2 separate regions of the Homo sapiens genome follow, and region 1 is linked to region 2. Evidence: promoter capture Hi-C in human tissues and cell types (Jung and others, 2019). All regions are on one chromosome and are shown on one strand. The core of a region is centred on a gene start or on the middle of the fragment in contact, and the rest is flanking DNA. Distances in the headings are between cores, read along the strand shown. Region 1 overlaps NEK9 (NIMA related kinase 9). Region 2 holds the start of ACYP1 (acylphosphatase 1).

Region 1 (7,027 bases), core at 206-2,705, 58 kb before region 2:
AAGATCTTATAGGTGATATTTATTTATATTGTCTTCAGCTAAAGCTATCCTATTGAAAAGTGGTCCAAAGATCATAACTGAGTGAAAGTAATATATAGTAAAGCATGGCCCTATTTATCTGGTCCCTGATTTCTTCACATCATTTTGCTTGTAAGATAGCAATATAGCCTAGTTGTTAAGAAAATAGACTCTAAAACCAAGTTTCTCTACTTTCTAGCTCTATAACCTTGGCAAGAAACTTAACTTCTCTGTGCCTCAGTTTCCTCATTTTATTTTTATTATTATTATTATTTTTTTTGAGATGGAGTTTTACTCTTGTTGGAGTAAAGGCTGGAGTGCAATGGTGCCATCTTGGCTCACCACAACCTCCGCCTCCTGGGTTCAAGCAATTCTCCTGCCTCAGCCTCCCAAGTAGCTGGGATTACAGGCATGCGCCACCACGCCCAGCTAATTTTTGTATTTTTAGTAGAGACAGGGTTTTGCCACGTTGGCCAGACTGGTCTCGAACTCCTGACCTTAGGTGATCCGCCCACCTCCGCCTCCCAAAGTGCTGGGATTACAGGCTTAAGCCACCATGCCCAGCAGTTTTGTCATTTTAAAATGAGTTTGTTGGCCAGGGACAGTGCACACCTGTAATCCCAGCGCTTTGAGAAGCCAAGACAAGCAGATCACTTGAGCATAGGAGTTTGAGGAAAGCCTAGGCAACATAGTGAAACCCTGTCACTACCAAAAATACAAAAAATTAGCTGGGTGGTGTGCACCTGTAGTCACAGCTACTTGGGAGGCTGAGGAGGGAGGATGGCTTGAGACTGGGAGGCAGAGGTTGCAGTGAGCTTGTGAGCTCAGACCGCTGCACTCCAGCCTGGGCGATGGAGCCAGACCCTGTCTCAAAAAAAAAAAAAAAAAAAAAAAAGCTGGGCGTGGTGGCTCACGCCTGTAATCCCAACACTTTGGGAGGATCACAAGGTCAGGAGATCGAGACCATCCTGGCCAACATGGTTAAACCCAGTCTCTACTAAAAATAACAAAAATTAGCTGTGCATGGTGGCGCGTGCCTGTAATCCCAGCTACTCGGGAGGCTGAGGCAGGAGAATCGCTTGAACCAGGGAGTTGGAGGTTGCAGTGAGTGGAGATCATGCCACTGCAGCCTGGTGACAGAGCGAGACTCCATCTCAAAAAAAAAAAGTTTGTTGATAACAGTACCTACTTTCTAGGATTGTTGTATTACATGCATAGTGCTTGGTAGGTAGAAAGTGTTTGCTACATACTGTACTAGCTGTTAATCATCTTATTGCACAGGAGAACCTCCAAAGCCCTTTTCTGAACTGCATGCTAAAGAGGTCCCAGCATATTCGTCACTTACGACTTCCTTGTGTAAACTCTTGTATATTATGATCATTGGTGATCAATGCCATATACAAGATTCTGTTAAAAATTTTCGAAGTAGCAGAAGCCCTAGGTAGTTAACTTCTTTTGTGGTTAGGAAGAACTGGAACAAATGATACATTTATTGAAACTGAGTTATTAAGTTGCAGGGGAAAAGAAGTTGTAAAAACTTACCCAGGGCTAAAGTGTAAGTTATAGTTGCAGGTGGGATGTAAGATGAACCATGATTACTTGCAGTCTGTATTACTTGGTAAAGGAAAGAGAGAAGTAAATTCACACTTATTCCACAGGAAGAAATTAGTAAAGAGAGTAATGATAGGAAACAGTCTAGGGGTAGACCCTAAATTTTGGGAAATATTTCGGTGTGAAGTAGAAAATTTGTCAATATATACCCTATAAATACAAAACATTGCATCACAGGTGTAACCCAATTTTTTTCTTTTTTTCCTGAGATAGACTCTCACTGTCACCCAGCCTGGAGTGCAGTGGTGCGATCCCAGCTCACTGCAACCTCCGCCTCCCAGGCTCAGGCGATCCTCCCACGCTCAGGCGACCCTCCCACCTTAGCCTCCTGATTAGCTGGGACCACAGGCACATGCCCCAACAGCTGGCTAACTTTTTGTATTTTTGGTAGAGACAAGGGTTTTGCCGTGTTGCCCAGGCTGGTCTTAAATTCCCAAACCCAAATGATTTGCCCACCTCAGCCTCCCAAAGTGCTGGGATTATAGGCGTGAGCCAATGTGCCCAGCCTAATCCAGATGTTATAGTAGTCACAACTGGGAGAGTTGTTACAAAAATATTGTAGAGTCCTTAAAGGAGAGTTCTAGAAAAGAAATCTGATTTTGAATATACTTCACTTGTTGGGAACAACAAGAATGGTCTTTACTCACATCTTTTCTAAAAATGTCTTTTTTTTAATTACGCCTCTTGTGTTAGAGAGGGAGATCTTTGAAGAATATTTCTGATGCGGTCCTTGAGAGATGGGAAGAGTTTTGTGCCCATGTGAAAAGTCAAAAGAAGTAGTTGCCTATGGAGAGAAAGCAGAATCCTTCATTTCCTTGTGTCACCTAAAAAAACCTGTTACAGGAGCCAAGCTTTGATCTGTATTAAGCAATTCAAATCTGTGTCTTGTTTAATTGCAGGAGGGAACCTGTATGACAAAATCCTTCGTCAGAAGGACAAGTTGTTTGAGGAAGAGGTAATTCATATTTCTGTGGAAGGAAGTTAGAATTGTAGTGTTGTAATTCTTGCATTCTAGTTCTGTATTTACTCTTCCAATAGTGAAGAGTGTTTTTTTCCTTTTGTTCAGACTCCTTCCAGGCTCTGATATTCATGAGAAAGGAAACCTCTAACAAGGAAGCTGTCTATAGCTGCTTCCTAAACGTTTTACCTCCACATCATGATTCTCTGTGGGCTTTCTTTCCTGGTTCTATTACTGCGTACTGGTATGCCCAGTTTTCTATAACTTTGCATTCTTCCTGAATTTTCCTACATGTCTGCTTTACCATACTATATATTATAATGACATTGGAACTATTTTATGAGGAACCTGTTTTTTGTGGTTTTTTACCCCTTCACTTTTCTTTGCCTACTCAACCTGCAAGGAAGAGATGTCAAGTCATGTTGAATCATAACTTCTGGTTGCAGTTTTCTTTGTTTTGTTTGTTTATGTGTGTGTGTATTTACTTAAATGGAGCTTTTTGTTTCTAATCCAAATATTTATTTTTTCTCTGCAGATGGTGGTGTGGTACCTATTTCAGATTGTTTCAGCAGTGAGCTGCATCCATAAAGCTGGAATCCTTCATAGGTAAGAAGTAAAAAAAATTATGGATGGATTCTTCCCTACCAATTCAGCCCCTACCGTGGATACCCCCCCAACAACACTTTTATTTTCTTGGTTAAGCAGCCAAGAGTTTTTCCATTGATATCACTAGGAAAGGAAAGTAATGAGCAATATTATTTTCACTCCCTGAGGTTAAACCATGTTTATGATCTAGGAAGAGTCTCCTCAGTAGCCAAGTACTACTGAAGTCATTTTACAGACAAAAATTTTAGAGTTCAGTTTGTTAATTCATCAGTAAAGCCTAGAAGGGCACTATGAGAAGTAGTATTTGGTAAGAATTCACAGCAATAATAATTGGCAATTCTTTTTAATTCTATAATTAAGATCTTTTAATTTAAATAAAAGCCTCTTCACTCTGTATATTTACTTGTACAAATTTACCAGATCTTTAAAAACAAGCATGATTGCATTCATTTCTAGCTATAGAAGAGAAGCATCTCAATAACATTTTCACATCATTATGCCCTTCTTAAGTGAGTCATTGACTGGTGCCAGAGATTAATTATAATACACTAAGATTTCTTTTTTTATTGGTTTGTTCATTCAGTTAACATGTATTTCTTGATAGCTATTAAATGGCTTCTGTTGCATGTTGTTATTTTCTTTTTAAAAGTAACAAAGTATATTGTTCTGGTTTATTCGCATCTTTCAATAAAGGAAGACATAGTGAACCAGGCACAGTTATTTTGTTTTACATATGGTCAATTTATCTTTAGAAAAATAGCCTGTGATTTTATTTAGATGACTAAATGGCCTAATCATATCATTGCAGGGACATGTAGGCCTCTTCTCTTGCCTTAACAGATTATTTGAAACTTTGACACCAACCAAGTTTGTTAAAGTTGCCTTGATATCACTTAATTCAAGGCATAAGTGATAGTTGAAGAGGTGTGGTATCTTATGGGAATTATGGTTACCTAGAGCACCATTTTCCTCATCTGACCGTCTCAACTTTTCCTAATAGCTTCAGTAGTATGGGAGATATTTCTATGCTGTGAAGCCCTAGAGGATGAAGTTAATTCTCTGCCTTCACTCCTTTAAAGTCCCCACTTCAGTGTTAAATAGCATGTGAAAGTGATGACCACTGTGGGATGTTTAGGATATCCTAAATGAATGAGCAATGGTAACACTCTTTTTTTGTTTTATTTTGTTTTAGTTTTTGAGACAGGGTCTCACCCTGTTGCCCAGGCTGGAATGTAGTGGTGCAATCATGACTCACTGCAGCCTCAGCCTCCTGGGCTCAACTGATTCTCGGTGCTTTAACCTCCCGAGAAGCTAGGACTACAAGTGTATGCCACCACTCCTGACTAATTTATTTTTTGTAGAGATGGGGTCTCACCATGTTGCCCAGGCTGGTGAAGAACTCCTGGCCTCAAGCAGTACTCCTGCCTTGCCCTCCCAAAGTGCTGAGATTACAGATGTGAGCCACTGTACCCGGCCCACACTCATTTTTATTCTGTAATAATCCTGGGCAAGGCGGGGGATGAAATAAAACAATTATCTGTGTGAACTTAATTTGCAGCATCTTTTTTTTTCAGAGATATAAAGACATTAAATATTTTTCTGACCAAGGCAAACCTGATAAAACTTGGAGATTATGGCCTAGCAAAGAAACTTAATTCTGAGTATTCCATGGCTGAGACGGTATGTGTTGCCCTTGTCTTAATTTTTATTTTATTTTCTAGCACTGTGAAATATAACTGTACTCCCTAAATCTTGCATACTTTTCTCAATATTCTTGCAAGTTCTCCATACTTTTAATGCATGTCTTCAGAAGTCTTTTTCCTGGGCCCACTAGCAGGCATTTAAGTCATTGCCCACGTTACAGCTCTGACCTCATAGCCTTTTTCCAGCACTGATTAGGGACTTATCTAAAAGCAGCAAAATGCTTTACTGTTTTGTCCAGGTTAGGATCTTTAGTAGATTTCACTTTATCTCTTATTTAATGTTTGAGCTCAAGGTGTTAGACATCTCTTTGTTTTTCCTTTGAATGCTTCTGGTTCAAAGAGAACCCTATATTTCAAGTGAAGGCTGATGCTCAGAGAACAATCCATTCTTTAATATTATACACAGTCTGAACTGCACAGGGGTCCCTTCTCACATGATTTTGAGAAAGATCATTGGTAAAGAGTAGACATAAGTTGATCTTTAGGACAGTAATCTTATCCTTTTAGGAATTATAAAACCCAGTTGTTATTCTTCTAGTTTCACAATGCTCTGTCCTTAAAAGAAATTGAAAACTGATTTTGGCCAATAATTTTTTTTTTAATAATGTCAAGGTTTGCCTGCAAGCAATTTAGATGTTTAGGGTTTGGAGTCTCTGCTTCAGGGACTCAGATGTTTCTATGATGGAGGCCAAAGTGAGCTTCTGAAGAAGCAATCATATCTTTATATGGATTTTTCTCATCAAGAACAATCTGATAAAACCAAGACTTGACTTTTTTTAGCTAGTTAAATGCAAAGAAGGAATGATATGAAAATTTATAAAAGCCATGTAAGCCATCTGAAATTTGCTTTGCTTTGCTGCTTAAAGCTGACTATGAATTTTATTAGAGCTGCTAGGGCATTCATTATATCTCATCTTGGGAGAGGCATGACTTCTTAGGACATTTTTATTTCCAAATTTATTTTTGAAGTCAGAAAATCTTTTTCAAATTCAAAGGAAATTCGCTAGCTGTGTTAGTATAACAGATGCCAAATTGGGCATTTTAAAAGTTTCATTGCGCGTATTTTAGTTAGAACATCTAATTCCTTCATTGAGTTACCATCTCCCCACTGCCAGTGTTTGGATTTTTTTCCCATTGGTGAACTTCTACTAAGTATGTCTTTAAGTTTGTGTAAAGTCTTCAGTAGGCCTTGAATGCCTGAAGCCTCTGTGATCTAGGAATCACAGAGCTATTGAGCCCCTCAAGTTACCACAGTTCCTTTGTCACAGAGATTGTCCCTTTATAATTGACCCAAGAGGTTTGATATGAATAAGATTTCTTTCCATAGTGGCATCGTCTCATAAAAACCATTTTGGAATCTGCTGATGAATGTTTTATGGTTGTTATGACTAGTTCCTAGGAAATTTAATTAAGCTGTTGAAATGTTAACATAGTTACCTCAGAAAAGAAGTTATTCTTTGATTGTTTCTTTGTTGCTCAGCTTGTGGGAACCCCATATTACATGTCTCCAGAGCTCTGTCAAGGAGTAAAGTACAATTTCAAGTCTGATATCTGGGCAGTTGGCTGCGTCATTTTTGAACTGCTTACCTTAAAGAGGACGTTTGATGCTACAGTAAGTTGGCATATTATCCCCATATTGCATTTAGCAGGTTGCAAATGGTACAGCTTGACTAAGCAGATCAACTCTATTCCCAGGCTTCTGATTTCTGGCAAAAATAACCTGTATTCAGGTACAAGATTAGTAATCTATTACTAAAATGCTATAGACCCAGCCAGGCGCAGTGGCTCACGCCTGTAATCCCAGCATTTTGGGAGGCCGAGGTGGGTGGATCACTTGAGGTCACCCCGGCCAACATGGTGAAACCCCGTCTCCATTAGAAATACAAAACTCAGCCGGGTGTGGTGGCGCACACCTGTAATCCCAGCTATTTGAGAGGCTGAGGCACAAAAATTGCTTGAACCCAGGAGGTGGAGGTTGCAGTGAGCCAAGATCATGCCACTGCACTCCAGCCTGGGCAACAGAGCAAGACTCTGTCTCAAAAAAATCTCCAACTTGAATTCCCTGTTGAAATGATCACTTGAACCCGGGAAGTGGAGACTGCAGTAAGCCAAGATCGCACCACTGTACTCC
Region 2 (7,682 bases), core at 1,421-3,920:
TTTTAGTAGAGATGGGGTTTCATCAGTCTCAAACTCCTGACCTCAGGTGATCCACCTGCCTTAGCCTCCCAAAGTGCTGGGATTACAAACGTGAGCCATCACGCCTGGCCTATTGAGTTTACTTCTGCAATGTCTCTCATATATGACTCTTCCTTTACATTTCTGCTGCCCCAGGTGAGTTTTTCCTCACTTCTCCTTGGGATGGCATAGCCCTCCTAACTTCTGCTCTTGCCTTCAATATCTGCTCTTCAAACCCATCCTTCATGCTGCAGGCAAAATAATCAGTCTAAATATTTCTCCACCCCCCCCCAGCTTTATTAAAATATAATTGACAAGCAAAAATTATATCTATATTTGCAGTGTACAAAGTGATGTTTTGATAATGTATGCATTGTGCAGTGATTAAATCAAGCTAATTACTAAATGCTTCTGATCCTACCATTTCCCTCCCCAGTAGCTTCTTCTTTACCTATAGAATAAAGTTGAAATGCATAATTTAGCATGGCATCTCTACCTCCCAGATTAGGTCCAGCCTACCTTTTCAGTTTTGCCTCCCCTTAATAAGCCACAGAGTTCAACCCAGTGAGTCTCATCCCTGACTGTGTGTTAAGACTACTTGGAAAGCAATATCTAGGGGTGAGGCCTGAGGATTAACATTTTTAAAGCTTCCCCAAAGATCCTGATGCACAAGCAGGGTAGCAAACCCCTGGTCTAGCCACAACTGGCTACTTGTACTTCTTCATCTCCATGGTACTACATTACTCTAAGCTCCACATACTGGGAGCTGGTAGAGCATAGCATTCATGGGGATTGACTCTGGAACCAAATCCCAGCTCCATCACTTACTGGTTGTGTGACCTTGGATTAAATGCTGTTTCCTCCAAGAACTCTTTCCCTGTCTTCCCAATCAGAATTAATTTGTTTGCTCCTTTGTAATATTTTCTGTCCTTGTTATAGCACAGGGCTGGTTCCTGATGAGCTCTCAATGGATTTTCATGGAATTAAATTATCATGCCATATATTTTATTGTCATTATTTGCATGCATTTGTGCCCCTACACTAAATTAAAAACTCTTTGAGGGCAAAGATTTTATATCATTCATCTTTGTATATCCTAGAGTGCCCCATTCGTATTAGACACTCAGTAAGTTTTGAATTCTATAAACTATTTTTTAAATGAATTTTAGAGAAAGAAATACCATTAGCAAGATACTCTATTTAGAGTTATTTTCAAATATTGCCAAGTACAACATTCAATCCAGCTTGTTCACCACCAACCCCCCACCTCTCAGCACTAAGGTTGTATGATTCTCTAGGATATGGATCCTCACTCTAGCGGGGAACTAGCAGAATGATGAATTTCCGTGCCTACTGTCACAAACCCATATCTCATTGTCAAGTCTGCCAACCTGGCATATTCACATAAGGAGTCTTTACGTTATGAAGAGGTGTAATGTATACAGTCAATCCACAGAGGATCAATAAACACCACAGTTTTCCTTCACACACATGAATCATAAGGGTAGCTGGATTCAAATGTTTACACATCAACTCTAATTTTAACCATCTTCATCCACATCCCCCTTGACAATTCCCTGTTCCCAAAATAAATTCGTGTAGTTTGGCCATTTGGCTTAGATTGACTGACTCAACTGTAATTCTGGAGCCATGAGTTATTTTGCTTGTGCTCTTGCTTTATTTGTGTAGTTAGCTGGTTATTTGTTCAAGCATTATTTGACATTTTCTTAGTAAAGGAGACCGGTGAGTAGCTTCCAGAAGCCCAGAAGCAGACATAACCTCCATTGGGACCTCCTGTGCACTTATGCCCCGTAATCCCCTATTCCAGATTGTTATGACCCAAACTTTAAGGAGAACTGAATGAAAAAGGACAGAAAGGTTAAATGTATCCTACTCAACATATTTATGATGTTTATTTTTTTATTTATTAATTTATTTATTTGAGTCAGAGTCTCCCTCTGTTGCCCAGGCTGGAGTGCAGTGGGGCAATCTCGGCTCACTGCAGCCTCCACCTCCCAGGTTCAAGCGATTCTCCTGCCTCAGCCTCCCGAGTAGCTGGGATTACAGGCGCCCGCCACCATGCCCGGCCAATTTTTGTATTTTTGGTAGAAACGGGGTTTCACCATGTTGGCCAGGCTGCTCTCGAACTCCTGACCTCAAGTGATTCGCCCGTGTCGGCCTCCCAAAGTGCTGAGATTACAAGCTATTTATGATGTTTAATGTGTGCTGTTTGTCTCTCACCTCCAGAATTAAGCTCCTCAGGACAGGGATCCTGTTTTGTTCACTGATGTTTGCCTGGTCACCTAGAACAGGTGCCTGGCACACAGTAGCTGTCAGTCAGTATTTAATTGAATGATTGAATGTATCCCCATGTACTTCTTCGTCTATGCCTTTCTCCTCATGAGAAAATGAGAAGAGGGTTGCGCTTGTTGACTGAGATGCGATGAGGGCTAGGTTTGTGGAGGCCCAGCCGAGTTCCTGGACAGATCCCCAACCCAAAGCTTTTGGGTTGCCGGACAACCGCGTCCTGAAATCCCACCTTCTGGGCGGGCCCGGGCCGAGGCGCCGTCTCTGATTGGTCAGCTGGAGGTGATGGGCATGAGCGACAGCGAAGGAGCAGCTACACACTAAACTTCCGGGCGCGGAGGTTTGCGCGCCTTGGTGAGCCGTTGGCGTGGTGGTCCCGGAGTGATCCTGGCAGCCGGTGGGGAAGACAAGGAGGGTGAGCCGCCAGGGGCCCCCAGGGTGTGCTTCTCAGGTCGATTAGCCCTAAAATGTTAGTAGCAGGGGATTCTGGGAGTTAGTAGCAGGGAATTCTGGTAGTGAGGGAGCGGGACCGGGCATGGATGTAAGGAGGTCATCGGTCCTCAGGTTATTTCCCCAGAAGAGGCTTCAGCGGGCAGCTGCGATCCGAAGCTCCCTCTCCCGGCGTCTGGTTCTTCCTTCACACACACCTTATCACATCCACTCACGTTTCCATTTCCAGGACCTTGAAGTCGGGGAGAGGTCGCAATGGTTAAGGATGGACAGGGGTGGGTGTGGCCCTTTCTGACTCAGGCTTGCGGGTCCTGGAATAATAGCCCTTCACTCTTCTGCTTTCCTGGTTTCTGACAGGTTTGAGCATGGCAGAAGGAAACACCCTGATATCAGTGGATTATGAAATTTTTGGGAAGGTGCAAGGGGTGTTTTTCCGTAAGCATACTCAGGTATGTGGCCTGCAGGCTTTGGGGTGGTAACCTAGGTTGTGGGCATAGGAACAAGGGACGTGTTCTTGACAAATGTGAACTAGAAGCCGCTGGCTATTTGGTAGCTGCATGGCAAAGAGGTAGTTTGTAGAGCAATGAGTATGAAAATGCTGTGCAATCGGTAAAACATGGTGTAAATGGAAGATCACCCTGCTGTTATTATTAGTCAGTGGTGCCTGAGCATCTAGATACACATATTAATGAGCTTCTCTCTTCCAAGGGAAATAGAGGGCTTCCCCAGTGCTCGCCGTTGTGGCATCATCAAACCAAGTCAGGTTTCTTATAGAAAGGCTAACATTGATTGAAGAGCTGGCATTTAGATGACCTGATGTCATGTATATAACATATATAAATGCTTCCTCTGCAGCTGCTGCACTTTCTTCAGACCTCTTTCTCCAAGCTTCCCTCAGTTCTCCACTTAATTTCTTTCTATTCTTTTTTGGTTTTGAAAGAACATTTACCTTTTCCAGCTGACGTTTTTCTTATTAAAAACTCTTTATCCATTCCAGAATAGGTGATGGGAACACTGAATGTGGAGCCTGGTATTCTTCCTAGAGCAATAAAGGATTATTTGAGGGGATGGACAAACTGTTGGCAGCCTCTACCTCTGCTTTAATGTGGCTAATCTTCCCTCAACAGGCACACACAAATGCAAGCTCAATTTACCCTCTGCCTTCTGTAGGTATTGGCTATTGCCTTCCCAGTGTGTCGCTAATCCCACAGATAATGAGTTAGGACTGCAAAACTTCTTTTTTTTTTTTTTTTTTTTTTGTATTTTTAGTAGAGACAGGGTTTCACCATCTTGGCCAGGCTGGTCTTGAACTCCTGGCCTCGTGATCCATCCGCCTCAGCCTCCCCAAGTGCTGGGATTACAGGTGTGAGCCACCGCACCCGGCCAGGACTGCAGAACTTCTTAAGTGTCTCATTCCTGGGACTGTGGTACTTAAAATTCAAATTCTAACCTGGAAGGAATCTTTGAAACATGAATGTGAATTGTCAATACCTCTTTCCCTTTTTCTTTTTTTTTTCTGAAGGATGGTGGCACAGTCACAGCTTATTGCAGCCTTAACCTCCCAGGCTCAAATGATCCTCCTTCCTCAGCCTCCCAAGTAGCTGGGACCACAGGTGCATGCCGCCACACCCAGCTTTTTTTTTTTTTTTCTCTTTTAACAGAGAGCTATGTTGCCCAGGCTGGTCTCAAACTCCCAGGCTCAAGTGATCCTTCTGCCTCGGCCTCCCACCAGTGTGCTGGGATTACAGGCATGAGTGACCATACCCAGCCAATACCTCTTTTTCTTTTCTTTTCTTTTTTTTTTTTTTTTTTTTTTTGAGACAGAGTTTCATTCTTTTTGCCCAGGCTGGAGTGCAATGGCACGATCTCAGCTCACCGCAACGTCCGCCTCCCGGGTTCAAGCGTTTCTCCTACTTCAGCTTCCCAAGTAGCTGAGATTACAGGCATGTGCCACCATGCCCCGCTAATTTTGTATTTTTAGTAGAGACAGGGTTTTTCCATGTTGGTCAGGCTGGTCTTGAACTCCCAACCTCAGGTGATCCGCCCACCTTGGCCTCCCAAAGTGTTGGGATTACAGGTGTGAGCCACTGTGCCCGGCCAATACCTCTTTTTCTAATTATTCAAAAATCATTTCTTCCCATCTGACACTCAAATAGGAAATGACTGTTGAAAACAGAATTGCTGAAACTCACAGCAAGAGCTGTGTTCCAGTTAGCTTTGCTACCAGTTATGCAGGTAAGTTCCTGTAAATTAAGGTGATTGAGATAACAGCTTCAAAGATTAGTCAAAGTTGTTGAGGGAAAAGGGTCAGATAGTGGTATGCATAGCCCATCTTTCTCTACCTGCCCCTCTCCCCAGTTTAAAGAGAGAATAACAGAATGCAGAAAAACAAATATTGATTGGAAAACTGCATATAAAATGACATCTATTTTTTCTTAATTAGGCTTGTAGCTTATTCTTTACTATTTATAATCATTTAAATATATATGTTCATTTGAACAGTTGTTTTGCTGCAATGTTTGCTGTTGATATTATCTAGCCTCTTATTTAAATTCCTTCATTTCTAGAGAAGTGACAAATAATAATTCAGGGACTTTTGAAAACTTGGAATATAATTTACATCCCATAAAACCCATCCTCCTAAAGTGTATAATTTGGTGATTTTTAGTATATTCACAAAATGTTGCACTAATTCCAGAACATTTTCATCATCCCAAAAAGAAACCCCTACCTAGGTTAGCACTCACTCCTCATCCCCTGAGCCCCTGGCAACCACTAACCTACTTTCTGTCTCTATGGATTTGCCTATTCTAGATTGTTGTTGTTGTTGTTGTTGTTGTTGAGACAGAGTCTCAACTCTGCCTCATTCTGTCACCCAGGCTGGAGTGCAGTGGCGTGATCTCGGCTCACTGCAACCTCTGCCTCCTGGGTTCAAGTGATTCTTCTCCCTCAGCATCCCAGGTAGCCGGGATTACAGGCATGCACCACCATGCCCAGTTAACTTTTGTATTTTTAGTAGAGATGGGGTTTCACCATGTTGGCCAGGCTGGGTCTTGAACTCCTCACCTCAGGTGATCCACCTACCTCAGCCTCCCAAAGTGCTGGGATTACACGCATGAGCCACCGTGTTCAGCCTATTCTTGATATTTAATATAAATGGAATCATACAAATGTGGCCTTTTTTTGTGACTGGCTCCTTTCACTTAACATATTGTTTTCAAGGTTTATCTACACTGTAGCATGTATTAGTATCCTATTCCTTTTTATGGCTGAATAATATTCCATTGTATGGATATACCACATTTCATTTATCCATTCATCAATTGATGGAAATTTGGGTTTCTGATTTTTGGCCATTATGAATAGTAGTGCTGTGAACACATATGCACATATTTTTATGTAGACAATGTTTTCAGTTCCATTGAGTATATACATACCTAGGAGTAGATTGCTGGGTCATATGGTAACTTTATGTTTAGCTTTTTGAGGAACTGCCAAACTTTTCCAAAGTAGCTATACCATATTATGTTCTCACTGGCAATGTGTGAGAATTCCAGTTTGTCCACATCCTTGCCAACAATGGTTACTGTCTTTTATGTTAGCCATCCTAGTGGGTATGAGGTAATATTTCATTGTGGTTGTTTGTTTGTTTTTCAGGTATTAATGAATTTAAAAGGATTTAAATCAAGGAATGTTCTCCAACTACAGTGGAACTAAACCACATTAAAAAAATAAAAAGGATAACTGGAAAATCCCAAAATATTTGGAAACCATATAGCACACTTACTTCTAAAATTGTGGTAGAATACATATAACATAGAAATTATTGTTCTAACCATTTTTAAATGTACAATTCAGTGGTCTTAAGCACATTCACATTGTTCTGTTTATCTACAGAACGCTTTTCATCTTGCAAAACTGAAACTCTGTATTCATTAAACACTAACTCCCCATTTTCTCCTTCCCCCATGCCCCTGACAATCATAAATCTACATTCTATTAATTCAACTGCTCTAGTTACCTCATATAAGTGGAATTTTACAGTATTTGTCCTTTTGTGGCTGGCTTATTTCACTTAGCATAATATCCTCAGGGTTCATCTGTGTTATATCATGAAAGTAAAAACAATTTCCTTTCTTTGTAAGACGGAATAATATCCTGTTGTATGTGTATACTTTCAGTGTGGTTTTGATTTGCCTTCCTAATGACTAATGATGTTGAGCATCTTTTCATGTGCTTATTGGCATATTTTATGTCTGCTTTGAAGAAATGTCCATTCAAATATTTTTGCCCATTTTTAGTTATTTGCCTCCTTATTCTTGAGTTGTAAGAATATTTTTATTCTGGATACTAGTCCCTTATCAGATGTATGATATACAAATATTTCTCCCATTCTGTGGGTTGTCTTTTTAATTTCTTGATAGTGTCTGTGAAGTACAAAAGTTTTTACTTTTGATGAAGTCAAATCAAATTTATCTGTTCTTTTTTTGCTTGCACTTTTAGTGTTATATCTAAGAAATCTTCCTAATCCAAGGTCATGAAGGTTCATGCCTATGTTTTTTGTTTGTTTTGTTTTTGTTTTTTGTAGCAACTGGGTTTCCCCATGTTGCCTGGCTGATCCTGACCTCAAGCAATCTGCCCACCTCAGCCTCCCAAAGTGCTGGGATTACAGGTGTGAGCCACCACACCCAGCTGCTGTCATGCCTATGTTTTCTTTTCCTTTTTTTTTTTTTTTTTTTTTTAAGACAGAGTCTCGCTCTGTGCAGTGGCGCGATCTCGATCTCGGCTCACTGCAACCTTCCGCCTCCAGGGTTCAAGCGATTCTCCTGAGTAGCTGAGATTACAGGTGTGCTATATCACGCCCAACTAATTTTTGCATTTTTAGTAGCGACGGGGTTTCACCATGT

The links. Contacts are between HindIII fragments. The study calls those that stand out against the background at their distance.
Region 1: a fragment that was not itself captured here is called in contact with the fragment with the promoter of ACYP1 in region 2 in 3 of the 25 tissues and cell types used here (mesendoderm cells, psoas muscle and stomach).

The regions. Positions count from the first base shown.
Region 1 is chr14:75,116,676-75,123,702 of GRCh38, reverse strand. It overlaps NEK9 (NIMA related kinase 9), which reads left to right. Exons shown (of 22, transcript NM_033116.6): 3 at 2,529-2,584; 4 at 3,123-3,193; 5 at 4,768-4,873; 6 at 6,377-6,508. Among named protein-coding and RNA genes, the nearest start is that of NEK9, 6.9 kb to the left of the region's middle. The HindIII fragment of the contact is 7,023 bases long and covers 1-4,966 here.
Region 2 is chr14:75,059,012-75,066,693 of GRCh38, reverse strand. It overlaps ACYP1 (acylphosphatase 1), which reads left to right and starts at 2,670. Exons shown (of 3, transcript NM_001107.5): 1 at 2,670-2,740; 2 at 3,133-3,224. The coding sequence starts at 3,141. RefSeq lists an enhancer at 2,330-2,499. The HindIII fragment of the contact is 1,499 bases long and covers 1,593-3,091 here.